Linked DNA regions of Homo sapiens: regions 1, 2, 3, 4 and 5 are each linked to region 6. The links are contacts of gene promoters, found by promoter capture Hi-C in blood cells and fetal thymus (Javierre and others, 2016). All regions are on one chromosome and are shown on one strand. The core of a region is centred on a gene start or on the middle of the fragment in contact, and the rest is flanking DNA. Distances in the headings are between cores, read along the strand shown.

The links. Contacts are between HindIII fragments. The CHiCAGO score rates a contact against its expected background, and 5 or more counts as called.
Region 1: a contact is called between a fragment that was not itself captured here and the fragment with the promoter of ECRG4 in region 6, in 6 of 17 cell types (total CD8 T cells, non-activated CD4 T cells, naive CD4 T cells and 3 more). The highest score is 12.9, in total CD8 T cells.
Region 2: a fragment that was not itself captured here is called in contact with the fragment with the promoter of ECRG4 in region 6 in 1 of 17 cell types (non-activated CD4 T cells); the score reaches 7.2 in non-activated CD4 T cells.
Region 3: a fragment that was not itself captured here is called in contact with the fragment with the promoter of ECRG4 in region 6 in 6 of 17 cell types (naive CD8 T cells, total CD8 T cells, naive CD4 T cells and 3 more); the score reaches 8.4 in naive CD8 T cells.
Region 4: a fragment that was not itself captured here is called in contact with the fragment with the promoter of ECRG4 in region 6 in 6 of 17 cell types (non-activated CD4 T cells, naive CD4 T cells, total CD4 T cells and 3 more); the score reaches 12.1 in non-activated CD4 T cells.
Region 5: a fragment that was not itself captured here is called in contact with the fragment with the promoter of ECRG4 in region 6 in 4 of 17 cell types (non-activated CD4 T cells, naive CD4 T cells, total CD8 T cells and 1 more); the score reaches 8.5 in non-activated CD4 T cells.

What each region holds. Positions count from the first base shown.
Region 1 is chr2:105,862,080-105,864,779 of GRCh38, reverse strand. All of the region lies in intron 3 of NCK2 (NCK adaptor protein 2), which reads right to left. Among named protein-coding and RNA genes, the nearest start is that of NCK2, 120 kb to the right of the region's middle. The HindIII fragment of the contact is 237 bases long and covers 1,191-1,427 here.
Region 2 is chr2:105,880,791-105,883,665 of GRCh38, reverse strand. It overlaps NCK2 (NCK adaptor protein 2), which reads right to left. Exons shown (of 5, transcript NM_003581.5): 4 at 1,617-2,338. Among named protein-coding and RNA genes, the nearest start is that of NCK2, 140 kb to the right of the region's middle. RefSeq lists enhancers at 1,199-1,977, 1,978-2,758. The HindIII fragment of the contact is 926 bases long and covers 1,108-2,033 here.
Region 3 is chr2:105,897,665-105,900,364 of GRCh38, reverse strand. No RefSeq gene overlaps it. Among named protein-coding and RNA genes, the nearest start is that of NCK2, 150 kb to the right of the region's middle. The HindIII fragment of the contact is 4,848 bases long and covers 1-2,700 here.
Region 4 is chr2:105,843,333-105,846,314 of GRCh38, reverse strand. The region is part of intron 2 of NCK2 (NCK adaptor protein 2); the gene reads right to left. Among named protein-coding and RNA genes, the nearest start is that of NCK2, 100 kb to the right of the region's middle. The HindIII fragment of the contact is 6,296 bases long and covers 1-2,982 here.
Region 5 is chr2:105,819,693-105,822,392 of GRCh38, reverse strand. All of the region lies in intron 2 of NCK2 (NCK adaptor protein 2), which reads right to left. Among named protein-coding and RNA genes, the nearest start is that of NCK2, 76 kb to the right of the region's middle. RefSeq lists an enhancer at 54-103. The HindIII fragment of the contact is 538 bases long and covers 1,074-1,611 here.
Region 6 is chr2:106,064,236-106,067,148 of GRCh38, reverse strand. It overlaps ECRG4 (ECRG4 augurin precursor), which reads right to left and starts at 1,461. Exons shown (of 4, transcript NM_032411.3): 1 at 1,306-1,461. The coding sequence starts at 1,384. The HindIII fragment of the contact is 9,592 bases long and covers 538-2,913 here.

The sequences.
Region 1 (2,700 bases), core at 60-2,559, 200 kb after region 6:
GGCCAAACTCATGTGTGAAAGGGACAAAGAAGAGAAGGCCAGGTCCAGTCTTTAACATGAGAGAAATTGAATGCCTGGCTGAGGTACCTAATCAGCTGCCTCAGAAGTGCCAGCTCTCCGAGGTAGGCCCTGGATTACATTATCTTTACACATCTGAAAATGAAAATTCACTGACATAAAGAAGTATGTCATAAGGATAACTGTGTACCTCCCAAGCCTGAGATTCACACCTGCAGCCTTCTCTGCATCCTACTGACGTCCCACCCTAACCTCAAACTCCACTACGCACCGTGGCTCAGTCTCCTCTTACTTCCCCCACTCTCTGGGTCACTGTTGGTCCTTCAGGCTGGAAACTCTTGAGTCATTCTAATACTTCTCCGAGGTGTTCCCCATCCAGTCAACAGAGTCCTAGGGGTTTTCCTTCAAAATCTTCCTTTTCTCTTTTGTCCTCCATCCCCACAGCTGAGCTCAGGGCTTGGGATGTCACCCTGGGTCACTCTCAGGCCCCGTCCCCCACCTCCCACTGCCAGGCTCAGGCCCTTCCAGTCGTGTCCTGAAGACAAGGATCAGGACCCCTGCCGGACACCCCAGCACTCATCTCCCCCTTAAGCCCTGTGGAAACCTCCGAGGGTTCTTTTTTCACACCCAGGGCCTTTACGGTGTGGCATGCCCCACCCCAGAGGCTGCCCCAGCCCTCTTGCTCACCCCAGTCCGGCTGGCTCGCCGATGGCCTTCCCCACACCTATGGGTTTCCGTCTTCACATCCTCACTTGCACTCTGCATCCCTCAAGTGAGACCCCACCCCCCCTCGCCAAGTCTCAACCCAGCTCAGAGTATTCTTCACATGAATGACTTCCTTCAGTTCTCAAAAACTTTATGAGACAAGCAGTCACGTATCCCGTTATACAGACGACGCAACTGAGGCTCAGAAGCTTCAGCGGCTTGTTCAAAGTCACTCAATGATTAAGAGCAGTAGGTGGCAAAGCCTGGATTTGAATGCAGGTGATCGAAGACTCCAGAGTCCTCCCTCCTGCCCACAATGCTACATGCTCTCTGAAAGCACAGGTGCCCGAGCTGCATAACTCAGCCCTAGTTTCCCATTGGACAGGAAGGGACAGTGCTATTGTTTGAATGAGGACTGTCCATCTTGTGCCAGTATTATTTTCCCGATTATATTACAAATACAAGCTTCAGAAAGTCAGGGACTAAGCCTTATCCTTCCTTCACATCCCGACCAGATGAAATAACATCTGACCAGGCTCCCCCTTCTGATCGGAACACACCCTATTACACTGTTGGGGTTGCTGCATCGTGTCTGCATCCCTGTTTCAAAGCCTTTGGTTACTGTTCTCAAAGGTCACTCACAGCAGAGAATGCAGTGGCTCAGACGGGATTTCCAAGGGATAGAGAAAGGGACAACTGAAGCTTAGACTCGGCTTCCACGAGAACCAGGCTGCTGCATTTGTTACCCACATTTCATTTCAGAGATGAACAGCTCTGCCCTTGTTGAGACCTGTGAGAATATTTATAATCACGATGACAGACCCACAATCCTATAATGCCGAAATGAGAATTTCCGATTTCCCAGCAATCACAGAGGCTGTGAGCCCAGGAGCTCAAAACAGCCTGGGGTGACCCAGCAAGAAGCAGAGATGGTTTTCACTTGCATGCTGGGGATATAGATATGATGAATAATTAGAGAAAGTTCTGAATCATGTACTGTTAGAACCATTCTGTGAAGCATCAGCTGGGCACGTTGACATCTGGTATTATTCTCATGTTCTAAGTCCAACTGCAGCAGATACTCGATGATTCTTTCTGGCCTCTTAAAGGCTTATGCCAAACTTAGGGCACTGCCCAGGCACAGCAGGGGAGCCCAAGTCTCCAGACTCCCAGCTACCTTTACGGCCTAGGGTAGTCTCTAAACCACTGCTGATATGTCTGCTTCTTTTAGTGCACAGGAAAATTACAAAAACGGCGCAAAAAACATTATTTTCCCCAAGCCATTTGAGACTAAGCTGCCAAGACGATGTTCCATTACCCGAATACTTTATGTGTATTTCCACAAATAAGGGCATTCATCAAAATCAGTAAATTTATATCAATACATGACTATCACCTCACCCTTGAACCCCTTCAAGGCTTGCTAGTTACTCCCGAGGTTTCTCATTTCTAAAACAAAGAACTTGGTATAATTCTGACTCTGGGACAGAGTCCCCCCAAACGTACAAAGCGGCCTACCACTAAATCCAGATAGTCAATTTGGTAGAGGAAAAATAATTCAGATTAGATCTGAAGTCCCCTCTGGGTCTCGTACCTGTGACTGCTGTGTTCTCAGGCTTCATTTTTTCATCTGTGATTAGTAACACTACTGAGGCTGGCCTGGGGTGCTATTACATATTTTCATATGAACTGGACATTTTCATAAATTTATGTACCATGTAACTAAAATCTTGCTTGACTACTCGACTAACCTGGGTCTTTTGATCTAAGTAAAATCAGCATGCTTAGTATGAAGCACAGGCTCAAGACCGACCCCCTTCCCACTAGTCTGAAGCCCTCTAATTCTTCCTAGACATAATTCTAGAGTCTTTACCACTGATATAAAAAAATGCCTGTAAGTGTTAAGCCGCCTGGTAAATTGCAAAGTGCTGTATAAATTGCAAGCTGTTGCTGCTCTCATTACATGTATTTATGCAG
Region 2 (2,875 bases), core at 321-2,820, 180 kb after region 6:
CTTGGTCCCTGAATTCAGACAGCAATGACCACCTGTGCATGTTCCACAGAAAAGCCATAGGTCCTCCCTAAGGCCAGCAACCCCGGAGAACACCTTTTTCATCTACCCTCTAAAGTCTTTCCTCTTTTCCCCAAATCTTAGGCAGAAAGAATAATGACTGGGACCAATGTCTCCACACTGCAGGACTTCCTTCTGAGAAGTCTCCTCAAACTCAAAAAATTTTAAGCCAAGATCATATTTTGTGCATTATACTTAGCCCTTAAGGACTCTGGACCAAGCACTTAATATTGTAATTGGTTTTCCAGCGCTTTCTCTAAGTTTCTGCTCGATTGAGTTAAAAGCGCTGCTGTCCTTAATTTGCTTAAGGCTTCAAACACGATCTAAAAGAAGTGGTGCACAGAGCTCTCGTCATGTGAGAACAATTCAATGTGATGTCTTGCCAGGAATGATAAACTCTGGTGACTTGATAAATCTCAGAGTTCAGATTTCAGATGAAGTTAGCTTTCAGCCTGGCATTCCCGTCCAAGCACATGTAAGGCTCCGCAAAATTGATGACACCATAAAGGAGTCCAGTTTCCACCACCACGATGCTCCGTCCTCAAAGAGAGCACATCCCAGTCGCCTCTCTCTGGAGGGCTTTGAATGCCTCTCTGATCAGTCAACAGGACCCTTGAATGAGCACTTATTCATTGTGCCAGTAATCTTTTCAGAGGACAGCAGTGGCAGCAGGTAGTACATACTTACTAGTCTTATAGCGTGCATTTAAAAATGAAATTGAAGCCTCCTAGAACCAATACAATTCAAATACATTAAACTCTATCTCCTAAATGCTTGTTTTGGAAGTCTCTCGATTGTAGAAGGTGTATTCGGAAAGACGTTTGCAAAACTGGTCGAGTATTTCCTTCACACACGAAAAGCCTGCCTTCTGGGATGCAGGCTTGACCCCATGCCTGAAACTCACCGCCCCCAGCCTGCCCACCGCTGAACTGGGTCTGCTGCCCCAGTCGAGTGGCCTCATATCTCCGACTCACTGCACACAAACAAAACTCATCTCTCCCAAGAACCCCTGTTTTCTTTTCAATTTATCTCGTAAGTGCTTTAAAAGCTTTTGAGAGATGAACTCAGTGGCGCTGCCTGCCGTGGCAATGACCTTGGGATTATATGGTTTACAAAGAGAAAGCAAGCAAACAACAAAAGGAGGTGTCAGAAACCAGCCACCAGTCTTGCAAAGAATGCTTTCTCTGGGACACAGACCGAATAGAAACAAAGTAAATCACTCGGGCCTTCTACGTACACAGAATGGGCAACCAGGAGAGAAAATGATGTTTGAGCCTGTGAAATACAAGAGGGGGAATCTTGGGAGAGAAGCAGAACCACCTCTGTGAGCTAAAAACATCTTTTTAGTTAATCTCCCACCTCCAGAAATGGACACCCACTATCCCCAAAACAGATGCAAGTAAATCACGGAGTAGCAAACATTATACTAAATTGCATTCATCTGCGTCTCCCGCTCTTTCTAGTGTACTCACACAATGTGAAAAGGGCGCGGCACACAGACCCACCGCGCAAGGCGCATTTACTGCCTGCAGCCGGAGCTGTGGGCGCAGCGCACTTACCGAGGACTCGCTGTCCCTAATGAGGAAGTCGCCCTCCACGCCCCGCTCGTTGAGGGCGCACTCGGCCTGGTGCCGCGTCACGTTCCCGTAGTACCACTCTCTGCCCGCGAAGCGCCCGCTGGACGAGGGCCCGGTGTAGCTTATCTGTGGGGCGTGCGCAGGGTGCAGGGCAGGCCCGTCACTGAGGACCACCACGTAGTTTTTGGGGACGAGGCCCACCTGGCCCCGGGCATTTTTGCATTTCCACCACTCGGGGTCGTTCTCCGGCTTCTCAATCACCTCCATGGTCTCCCCCTTCTCGAAGTTGAGCTCCTCCTCGGTGACTGAGCTGAAGGGGTACAGCGTCTGGACCACATGCAGCACGCGGGAGCCCTGGCCATTGCTCAGCGAGGCGCCCTTGCGCAGGCTCAGGAAGCTTGGGGACTCCGCAGCCGCCTCGTCCACCTCCTCCAAGACGTAGTTGGAGGGGAACCAGCCGATCTGCCCGTTGTAGCTGCCCCGCCACCAACCGTCGCTGCACTTCTCCATGACGGTGACGCGCGACCCCTTCACCAGGGACAACTCATCCTCCCGCTCGGCCACATAGGCGAACTTGACGAAGGCCGGGATGTTGAGGTCGTAGATGCGGTCGGCGCCGCTGCCATTGGCGGGGTACTCGGCGTCCGTGCTGGGCGTGGGGGACGCATCCCGCGCGCTGGTCTTCCTGCGCGTCTTGCCGAGGCCTGTGGAGACACAGCAAGGCTCAGTGGCGCAGGGCACTTGGGCACCACCACACTCCCTAGCCTACCGGGATTTCCACGCAGTTTCTCTGGCGGTTAAATACAAGGGGACGACACATGGACAGTGCTTACAAACTGTAATTACCATGAGAAAAATACGGTTGCTGGCAGCTGCCTCCTGTAGTTGCGAAGTTACTTAAAGTTGAGAATTAAATTGATCTATTTTATCCATAAAAACATGTCACAGGGCCAGCACAGTGGCTCACGCCTGGAATCCCAGCCTTTGAGAGGCCCAGGCGGGAAGATTGCTTGAGGCCAGGAGTCTGAGACCAGCCTAAGCAACATAGCGAGACCGTGTCTGCAAAAAAAAAAAAAAAAAAAAAAAAAAAAAAAATTAGCCACCTGTGGTGCACATCTGTGGCCCCAGCTACTGGAGAGGCTGAGGTGGGAGGATGGCTTGAGCCAGAGTTGAGACTGCAGTGAGCCATGATCGCTCCACTGCACTCCAGCCTGTGCAACAGAGTGAGGCCCTGTCTCTAA
Region 3 (2,700 bases), core at 175-2,674, 170 kb after region 6:
TCCTGAATGACTTTTGGGTAGATAATGAAATTAAGGCAGAAATCACAAAGTTCTCTGAAACTAATAAGAACAAAGATACAACATGCCAGAATCTCTGGGACACAGCTAAGACAGTGTTGTGAGGGAAATTTATAGCACTAAATGCCCACATCAAGTTAGAAAGATCTTAATTTAACAACCTAATATCACAACTAAAAGAACTAGAGAACCAAGAGCAAACCAACCCCAAAGCTAGCAGAAGACAAGAAATAACCAAGATCAGAGCTGAACTGAAGGAGATAAAGACACACAAAAAAATTCAAAAGATGAACAAATCCAGGAGTTGGTTTTCTGAAAAAAAATTAATAAAGCAGATAGACTGCTAACTAGACTAATAAAGAAGAGAGAAGATCCAAATAAACACAATTAGAAATGACAAAGGGGATACTACCACTGACCCCACAGAAATACAAATCATCATCAGAGAATATTATTAATACCTCTATGCACATAAACTAGAAAATCTGGAAGAAATGGAAAAATTCCTAGACACATACACCCTCCAAAACTGAAACAGGAAGAAACTGGATCCCTGAACAGACCAATAATGAGCTCTGAAATTGAATCAGTAATAAATAGCCTATCTAACAAAAAAAGCCCAGGACCAGATGGATTCACAGCTGAATTCTACCAGACATACACAGAAGAGCTGGTACCCATTCCTACTGAAACCATTCTAAAAAATTGAGTAGGAGGGACTCCTAACTCATCTATAAGGCCAGCATCACCCTGATACCAAAACCTGGCAGAGACACAACAAAAAAAGCAAACTTTAGGCCAGTATCCTTGATAAATATTGACACAAAAATCCTCAACAAAATACAGGCAAACCAAATCCAACAGCACATCAAAAAACTTATCCACCATGATCAAGTAGGCTTTATCCCTGGGATGCAAGGTTGGTTCAACATACGCAAATGAATAAATGTGATTCATCACATAAACTGAACTAAAGACCAAAGACAATTATCTCAATAGATGCAGAAAAGGCTTTCAATAAAATTTAACACAACTTCATGTTAAAAACTCCCAATAAATGAGGTATTGAGGGAACATACCTCAAAATAAGTGATCTATGACAAACCGACAGCCTATATCATATTGAATGGGCAAAAGCTGGAAGCATTGCCCTTGGAAACTAGCACAAGACAAGGATGCCCTCTCTCCTATTTAACATAGTATTGAAAGTTCTGGCCAGAGCAGTCAGGCAAGAGAAAGAAATAAAGGGCATCCAAATAGGAAGAGAGAAGTCAAACTATCCCTGTTTGCAGATGACATGACCCCATATCTAGAAAAACCCATAGTCTCAGCCCAAAAGCTCCTTCAGCTGATAAACAACTTCTGCAAAGATCCTTCAGCTTATAAACAACTTCTATAAAGTCAACATACAAAAATCACTAGCATTCTTACACACCAACAACAGTCAAGCCAAGAGCCAAATGAGCAACAGAATCCCATTCACAATTGCCACAAAAAGAATAAAATACCTAGGAATACAGCTAACCAGGGAGGTGAAAGAGCTCTACAAGAAGACCTGCAAAACACTGCTTAAAGAAATGACACCAACAAATGGAAAAAAAATTCATGCTCCTGGATAGGAAGAATCAATATTGTTAAAATGGCCATACTGCCCAAAGCAATTTATAGATTCAGTGTTGTTCCTATTAAACTGCCATTGACATTATTTACGGAACTATAAAAAAACATTTTAAAATTTATATGGAACCAAAAAAGAGCTGAAATAGCCAAGGCAATCCTAAGCAAAAAGAAGAAAGCTGGAGGCATCATGCTACCTGACTTCAAACTATACTACAGGGCTACAGTAACCAAAACAGCATGGTACTGGTAAAAAAAAAAACCAGACATATAGACCAATGGAGGAACAGAATAGAGAGCCAAAGAATAAGGCCACTACACATGCAACCATCTGATTTTTGACCAAGTTGACAAATGACAAGCAATGGGGAAAGGACTCCTTATTCAATAAATGCTGCTGGGATAACCGGCTGGCTGGTGAAGAAGATTGAAACTGGATCCCTTCCTTACACCATATACAAAAATCAACTCAAGATGGATTAAAGACTTAACATGTGAAACCCAAAATTATAAAAACTCTGGAAGACAACCTAGGCAATACCACTCTGGACATAGGAACAGGCAAGGATTTCATGACAAAGATACCAAAAGCAATTGCAACTAAAGCAAAAGTTGACAAATGAGATCTAAATAAACTAAAGAGCTTCTGCACAGCAAAAGAAACTATCCACAGAGTAAACAGACAACCTACAGAATGGCAGAACATTTTCGCAAATTCTGCATCTGACAAAGGTCTAATATTCAGTATCTATAAGGAACTTAAACAAATTTACAAGAAAAAAACCCACCTCAATAAAAAGTGGGCAAAAGACATGAACAGACACTTTTCAAAATAAGACATACATGTGGCCAACAAACATGAAAAAAAGCTCAGCATCACTGGTCATTAGAGAAATGCAAACCAAAACCACAATGAGATACCATCCCACACCAGTCAGAATGGCTACTATTAAAAAGTCAAAAAAGAACAGATGCTGGTGAGGTCACAGAGAAAAAGGAACACTTTTACACTGTTAGTGGGAATGTAAATTAGTTCAATCATTGCAAAAAGCAGTGTGGTGATTC
Region 4 (2,982 bases), core at 374-2,873, 220 kb after region 6:
TGCAGACTAGACTCTAAGTCAACATAGCTCATTAGTGTCTGGGAAATTTTACAGAAAAAAAAGAAGTGGTGGCACTGTCGCTTCAACTAGAATCTGGGAAATGCTATTTTACACATAATTTACCACTCCAGCTACAAAAGTACACAATTTTGTAACCTTCCTTGGCTTTCTCGTTGGTGTCTTAGACACTAATCACACTGGGAGGAAGGCTGTGACTGTCAAGTGATTCCCTGGTGCCAGCATTTTGGAAAATCAACATAAATTTAATAAGCCAATTTTCTTACATGATGTTAACTGTAAACAAATGAAATTCCATATAACTGCACTGGAATCAACACTGCCTTCTGCCAAGCCAGAAGACAGCATGGTGAAGGGGTGAAGAGGAAATACCAACAATGGGAAAATACCCACGTATGAAAATGGACATAGATGTCTTTGGTGGAACTTGGCTTCTTAGGAAACACAAGTGAGGTCTTTTCAGGTAGTGCATACTCCCTGCTCCCAAAGTAGACGGATAACAGTCACCATTTTTAGCGGTTTATCAGGCCTTCCTATTTTTTTTTCACAGCTGTAAGGTACTTGTAAATTTTGTAACTTAAACATCTACTTCAAAAAAACCTCGGCTGGGCGTGGTGGCTCACATCTGTAATCCTGGCACTTTGGGAGGCTGAGGTGGGTGGATCATCTGAGGTCAGGAGTTCGAGACCAGCCTGGCCAACATTTGAAACCTCACCTCTACTAAAAATACAAAAAATTAGCCGGGCATGCTGGTACATGCCTGTAATTTCAGCTACTCAGGAGGCTGAGGCAGGAGAATCACTTGAGCTCAAGAGGCGGAGGATGCAGTGAGTAAAGATCAGTCACTGCACTCCAACCTGGGTGACAGAGTAAGATTCATCTCAAAAAAAAAAAAAAAATTCAAAATATAAATGTCATGAGTTTCCTCAGTTCTTACAAATGAATTCAGCTACATTAATCAATATCTGACCTTTTTCCTTGCCACCTTGTTACTCACGATTCCCTGCCTGATTTTGAAACATGCAAGGTTGAAACAAGAAGCACAGTGATTTTTAAAAACAGATTCCACACTACCCAGGTCTCATAATGTTAAAATATTATTAGGCTACTAAAATCATTTTAGTTCTGCAGATTTATATGGTTTATGCCCACATTCCTAAGCATGGTATCTATGCTTTAGATTTTCCTATTGAAGTGGGAGAGTGGATTATAGAAAGCCCCTCTGCACCCCGCTCTAGGGACAAGAACCTGTACCTACCTGCCAGCAGGGACCCTGTGTAGGAGAGGGGACATGGGTTACTTTGGGTTTAATTACTATAGACACCTCTATAAATGAGTTTGGAACAATAAATGCTAATATTTATTCCAAATGTAGAATTCTGTTAAAGAAACCATCCCTATCATTTAAGAAAACAGAATGAGGAAATAAAGGTTTCTAGCATCTGTGCTTGATATTTCAAAATATATATATCTATTTTTATGTATATATATTTATATATTCTTTTATATACATATATACATACATACATATATATATATATATATATATCCCCCCCCGCCCCAAGACAGAGTCTTACTCTGTTGCTCAGGCTGGAGTGCAGTGGCGCGATCTCAGCTCACTGCAACCTCCTCCTCCTGGGTTCGAGCAATTCTGCCTCACCCTCCCGAGTAGCTGCAATTACAGGTAAGAGCCTCCATGCCCAGCTGTTTTTTTTTTTTTTTGTTTTTTTCTACTTTTAGTAGAGATGGGGGTTTCATCATGTTGGCCAGGCTGGTCTCCAACTCGACTTCATAATCCGCCCGCCTCAGCCTCCCAAAGTGCTGAGATTACAGGCGTGAGCCACCATGCCTGGCCCAAAAATATTTTTTAGACTAAAATAGGTTCCTTTATTATTAACATATTACATTAGTATGATAAGCATGTTACAATTAATGAACCACTACCCATACATTAACTAAAGTTCATGGTTTATTCAGATGTCCTTAGCTTTCCCTTAATGTCCTTTTCTTGTCCCAAGATCCCACCCAGGATCCCACACTACATTTAGTTGTCACGTCTGCTTAGGCGCCTCTTGACTGTGGCAGTTCTCAGACTTCCCTTTTTTTTGAAGAGCATTGGTCAGGTATTTAAAGAATGTCCCCCCACCCGTTAGGATTTGTCTGATGTCATGAGAAAAACATCAGACAAATCCTAAGTGGGGGACCTTCTGCAAAATACCTGATCAGTGCTCCAGTATTAGCTTTTGGGAGGAAGACCACAGAGGCAACATGCTATTCTCATCTTACCATATCAAAGGTCAACATGGCTTAGGACTGCAGACTGCTGATGTTGACCTTGATCACCTGGCTGAGGCGGTGTTTGTCAGGATTCTCCACTGAAGTTACACTTGCCCCCTTCCATGCTATGCTCTTTGGAAGGAAGTCTCCAGGAACAGCCCACGCTTAAGGGTGGGGAGTTAACTCTTCCATCTCCTTGAGGGCAAAGCATCTACATGAATTATCTGGAAACCTTTTGCACAGGAGATTTCTCTTCCCCTACTAATTAACGTATTCCATCATTTATATCACTGTGATCTTACGGCTATTTTATACTCTGGGCTACCATCCAATATTGCTTTTTCTTGAATTGTTCCAGCTTTGTGTATGGGAGCGTTTTCAGCTGGCTACTGTGTCCCTGTGACGTATCACCATCACTGCGAGTGTTCGTTCGTTTGTTTCTTTGAGCACATCCTTACTTTCTGGCACCACAAGATGCTCTGGGCTTTTCTTGCATATTTTCTACCCCAGTCCCAGAATCAGTATATCTGCCTTGATTGTAACCAGCAGTACCTGTAGTCCACTTTTTACACATGAATCCTTTACAAAATAAAGAGGGGAGGGCTAGGTTTTTTTTTTTTTTTTCTTATGGGACCACAGTACAGAAATACAGGCTAAGAATCCCTAATTCAAAACTCCAAAATCCAA
Region 5 (2,700 bases), core at 93-2,592, 240 kb after region 6:
CAGGTCTGATGTTAAGCTGGGGATCCCCAACACAAGGCGACTCTGAGCACCATCCTGGGCCTCCATGGGTGGAGCTGGAAGCCACAGGAGCTGTTAAGCTGATCCTGGTGCTTCAGGAGCAGCAGAGGCCCTCGGGGGATTCAGGTTCCCAGCTGGTGCCCCCTTCTCAAACCTCCCAAAGTCTTCCTTCACACACCCTTACGTTTCCAAAGAACTCTCCAAACTGCACTTAGTTGCAGGAGATTTTTCTAGGGGAGAAAAAAATAAATCTCACGAAATTCCTGGTACAGTAAGAAAGAAAGGCTTTTTTGGGTCAGGAAATGGGAGCTCCCAGCCTGCTCTGCCACCTAGGAGCCCCGGCCAAGTCATTTAATCTCCCAGAGCCTCACATTTCAGTTTAAGGTAAGCACTTGGAGAATGGGTCGTTACCATGTCACCACCATCATGTGTCAGAGACAGCAGCCCGGGAAGCAGAAGGAACGTGGGCTGGTAAGCAACAGACCTTCTGCTTCCCGGGCTGCTGTTAATAGATGGGGACACAAAGCCACAGGAGAGGTTAAGGGGACTCTCCAGAGTCACACAGTTGAGCATGCACAGCTGTGGACAGTCTCCTTAACCTCTCCTGAGGCTTTGTGTCCCCATCTATTAAATGGGGGCAATAACATCTGCATTTGCGACTAGAGATAATATACAAGCAGTGACAAGCCCTGTGCCGGGCACCTGCCAACGATGACCCCATAGATTACAGCTGCTTCCACTGACTGCACCACCGGGGCACTGTGGAATCAATGTGGCAATGTTTTCCCAGCAGCTGTCAATACTTACTGGGCAATTATTTAACCAATTACCACAGATTTATCCGCAGCATTAAAGGCTGTGGCCATCTCTTTATATTCGGTACACTGTACAGAAGAAACAATCAGTCCAAACTGCAGAGACTGTTCCCCCAGATCACCCAGGGGTCCAGAGTGCGGCAGAAGGAGGCTGAGATGGGCCCATTTATTTGGGCGGAAACTCCACAAGTTACTTCCAGGTATCATGAGACCTCCAGAGCTACACCCTCAACAGAAGCTTTAGCCCTAAAATCTTAATGACTGAGCACTGGGCTTTGCGTGTAAAAAATCTTTCTAAATAACCTGTTGGGGGCAAAGTCAGCTACCAGCAATCTCCAAAATACCAAACAACCAGGATATGATAAAAGTGAGTAGTAAATTCCAGATGACTTTTCCAAGTGTACACACCCTAGGAAAAATTGTTCTGAAATAAATTGAGGATAATATGAAGTAGTAAACTTTAGTAGTTAAATAAATATTACTGGATAGCGTTTTTATGGATGTAAGAGTGACAGGCTCAATGTTTCATCTTCTCATGCTCACTGCTCAGTTAAACACAGCTGCTGCTGCTTCTATCACAAAATGGAAAAGATGTGTGTAGGCTCACTGCTGACATTTACACGCTGGACATGCACATCACCAACTGACTCGGTTTGTGAAATCCCGTCCTGTTTACTCAAACTTGAGTTGTGTCATCTAAGCCACTGTCCTTCCTATCCCACTACACCATCCTTCTGTCCATTAGGACATGTCTGTCATGAAAAAGCCTCCAAAAGCTTTTCAAAAGTCAAACGAATCTGCAGCATAGCAGACAAGGCCCTTTGCATCTTCCGTCCCTAGTAATGGCCAGCCTCCAACAATCAATTACAGTCACTTTTCAAGTACACACGGGAAGAATTAAGTGCAGATTATGCGTTTGCCAAAATGACAACTCTGGTGGCCTTCTGGCTCTTCCTATGGTCTCCGCTCCCCCAAAGAAGGCAGGGTCAGAGCCGCAGGGTCCCAAGACTTTGTTCCTTAACTTCAATGGGGAGACCAGAAAACAGGGTAGGGAAATGCACCACGTGGAAATGGGCTGAGACGTTACTCAAGCCCTCAGACACCGCCATCCTCCTCAAGCTGCTCTCAGCCCAGCCCCAGGCACGCAAACCTTGAGTGTCCAATAACTGGGAAATGCATCCAAGGCTGACATCCCGCTTACTGTTCTACCAGGCCAGCATTTATTTCACTTCTTTCTGACATGCCGAAGTGTATGGCTGACCGAGCTGTTGCTTTCCCTGTTGGCACTTCAAGGACCACCGACCAAATGGCAAATGCCTGGTCCCCAAGCCAGTATTGTCTGAATGACCTGCAGTCTCCAGGAACCATGGCCCAGCTGGTCCAATCAGCCTGCCCTGTTCCAAGGAAACACATTATACCTCTGTACACGTCTCCTCATTCTTTAAAACTTATTCCCAACGTAACATCTCCTGGCTTTTCCATACTGTCCCCTAAAGGGTCAGTTGATCCCTGCCTCAAGTATTAGGGACTGGCTGTAAGAACCTCCACTACAGCAGTTAGCACAGTCCCAAACTGTCAGGGTCCCATCCTGAAAGGGCATGGGGAAAGGTGGCTGGGACTATATTTTATCTATTTTTTTTTTAACTGCTACAACAGTCACTGCAAGAAAAATAGCCCAAAATACAGGTGGGGTGTTCACAATAGATGTTTATTATATGAATGGCTACATCTCACGATTTTCCAAATGAACATTTTTCTAAACCACAAAAGTAAATTTTAATAGGTGAATCAAGGTTTTGTGTGGAACTTATAAACTTATGAAATAAAAGTAATCCTTTAAAATTACATGGGTAGATATTTTTGTAAG
Region 6 (2,913 bases), core at 212-2,711:
GGCATTTTTAGTAGAGACGGGGTTTCTCCATGTTGGTCAGGCTGGTCTCGAACCCCCGACCTCAGGTGATCTGCCCCCCCCCCCCCCCCGGCCTCCCAAAGTGCTGGGATTACAGGTATGAACCACCAAGGCCGGCCCAGATGTGCTTCTTAAAGTGGCAAGAACAAAGAGTGGGAGGCAGGTAAACCATACAACGGGAAATGACTGATTAGCTTCGCCTGTGATTCTAAGGTGGAACAATAATCCTCCCCACCTGAACAGACCTCACCACGCCTCCTGCTGTTTTAGCAACCCCGGGGCTCCATCCCAGGGCTCCTACTGAATGTCCCCTGCCTCTTCTCACCTCGAGTTCAGTTTCCATACCTGTTTCGAATGAGCAAAATACAGAAACTGAGCAACCGAGTGAGCCTCCCTTTTACATTAGGCAGTGCCCAGCTGCTTTGCAGTGGGACAGCGCCAGTCTCAGGCTCTTGGGCAAGTCACTTCATACACCAGTAACTCTGAGGTAACAATCCCTGCCTCCCCTAGTTGTAAGCTTCAAAGGCAGTCATGTGTCCTTGAGGCCACTTGTGAACCATAAATGTTCCTCCTACCCAGTGAAGGTGGTAACTCAGGACAAACCACGGCTTCAGATTATGGTTCCTAAAGTGGGGCCTGTGGAGCCCAGCGATCAGATATCGGAGCACCCATCATTCTGGGTGTGCGTGTGAATGCACGTTTTACAGAGAGCGAGCAGAGAATTTCAGAGTTTTCAACCGATTCGCTGGGAGCTCCACGAAGCAGGAAAGATTAAGCATTACTCCTTTAAGAGCCTTTCCCCTCTCTGGGGTGTGAGGCCTGTGCCCAGCTTTGCAAATTGCAACTTGACCCAGCTGGGAAGCGCAAGTCAACTTGGTTGCTAAGCGACTGCCTGGAAGGGAATGGCGGTGATGGTGCCATTTGCCTCCTCTGGGTTACCAGCTGCGTAAAGCCCCCACAACCCTTTTGCCCCTTACGTTAAGCCACGAAACACTACTTGCCCACCCTTCGGACGCCTGGCCCTCCTTGCCCAAGGTTGCCCGGGAGATCTGAGACCCTCCCCTTGACCCCGGTACTCTCTCCACCCTCACAAGGGCACCACTTCGCACTTGTGCGAGTGCAAAACCCCAGACCCGGTCCTCTACCACCCCTTGGCCCTGCCTAGGCTAAGGATGGGTCCCTACGCCGCCACCCCATCACCGATCGCTCTCCCCGGGCACCATGGAAGCGCCACATGGGGCCAACCCCTGGTGCCGCTATCAATCAGCCTGGCATCGCCCCGCTCACCTGGGCCCCAGCACAGGAGCAGGAGCAGCGCCAGCCCGGTCAGGGCCAGGACAGCAGGCCGCGCGGGGGAGGCAGCCATGGCGGCGGGGCGCGAGCAGGAGGGCGAGGGGCGCACTTCGAGGTGCTGCGAGGGAGAACCGGGCGCGGGAGAGGGGTGCGAGCGGGCAGGCGCGGCCGCGGGTTATCCCTGCGTCGCTGCCGGGGCGGGACCCAGCGGGTGGGCGCCGCGCCAGAGGGCTGAGGGCCAAGCGGCTGCGCCCAGCGCACGGGCGAGTACCACCGAGGTCCTCTCTCCCGCCCCGGCCCCAAGGGGAACGCAGCCCCTGGGCTCCAAGGCCAAGGATGCTTGGCCACGGAGAACCGCCGGCGGCGGGGGCCGCGTGGCCAGCGCTGCCCGCAGCGAAAGCGGTTAGGACAAGCTGGGTTCCGGAGACCCAAGGAAGGGCAGAAGGCATCGGGAGAAGGGACGAGGCCCCCTGGCCACTCAGAGGGAGGACTTGCCGGATCCCAGCGCTGGGGTGTCTCCTTGGCTCCCCCACTTCCTCCGCCCGCCCCAGCCGCGCCACTGTTCCCCTTACTCCTCACCCCTTTCTTCCCTATCTCCCTCCCTCCCTGCTTGGGGGCCTTGCTTCTGCCTGGTTTGTAAAGTGGGCTTTGGAATTTCCTTAGTTCAGAGCTGCTCTTAAGGATGCCTTAGGCGGGGCTGTTTTTGAGATAGTTTGAAAGATTCCACAGTCTGGGTTCAGAGCTGCAGTCCGGGAAATCGTCTCACCCAAACTTCTCCAATAGAAAAGCCTTTGAGAAACCAGGAACCTGGTGCCCTGCAGCTGTGAGCAAAACCACTGCTTCCCTTTGCCCGCTCTGTAATCTGGGCACACTTCAGCGAGCGATGTTAAGGTGAGACCCAAGGGAAACGCAGAACTGCATCCCAGTAACTGGCCTGTTCAACTGTAGAGGACACGTGAAAGGAGGCGTAGTGAACAAAAACTAGAACAACTTTATCCCAACGGACTCTGAGCGGGTCACCTAATTATTCTCTCCAGGCCTGGGCTACAAAAGGATGGAGATGTGAGATTACCTTTCCTGTCTTCCCATCTCAGATCTGCCCTGAACTGAGCTGATTACCTCTTTCCTTCACCAAGGTTCTCACTTATTTTCCCCTCCCTGAGACGGAGTTTCACTCTTGTTGCCCAGGCTGGAGTGCAGTGATGGGATCTCAGTCACTGCAACCTCCAACTCCGGGGTTCAAGCGATTCTCCTGCCTCAGCCTCCTGAGTAGCTGGGATTACAAGGCATGTGCCACGAGGCCCAGCTAATTTTGTATTTTTAGTAGAGAAGGGATTTTACCATGTTGGCCAGGCTGGTCTTGAACTCCTGAACTCAAATGATTCACCCGCATCGGCCTCCCAAAGTGTTAGGATTACAGGTGTGAGCCACCACACCGGCCAGTATTTTTATACCCTCCAGTGGTAAGCACTTACTGTCTCTCCATATAATTAGCTCTCCATGCAATGCAGTTGAATTTCTCCAGCAGGAAGGAGAAAGAAGTCTTCTAACATTGAGCTAGTAAAGACAGATGGTGGCCAACCAAAGAAAAAAGTGCAAAGT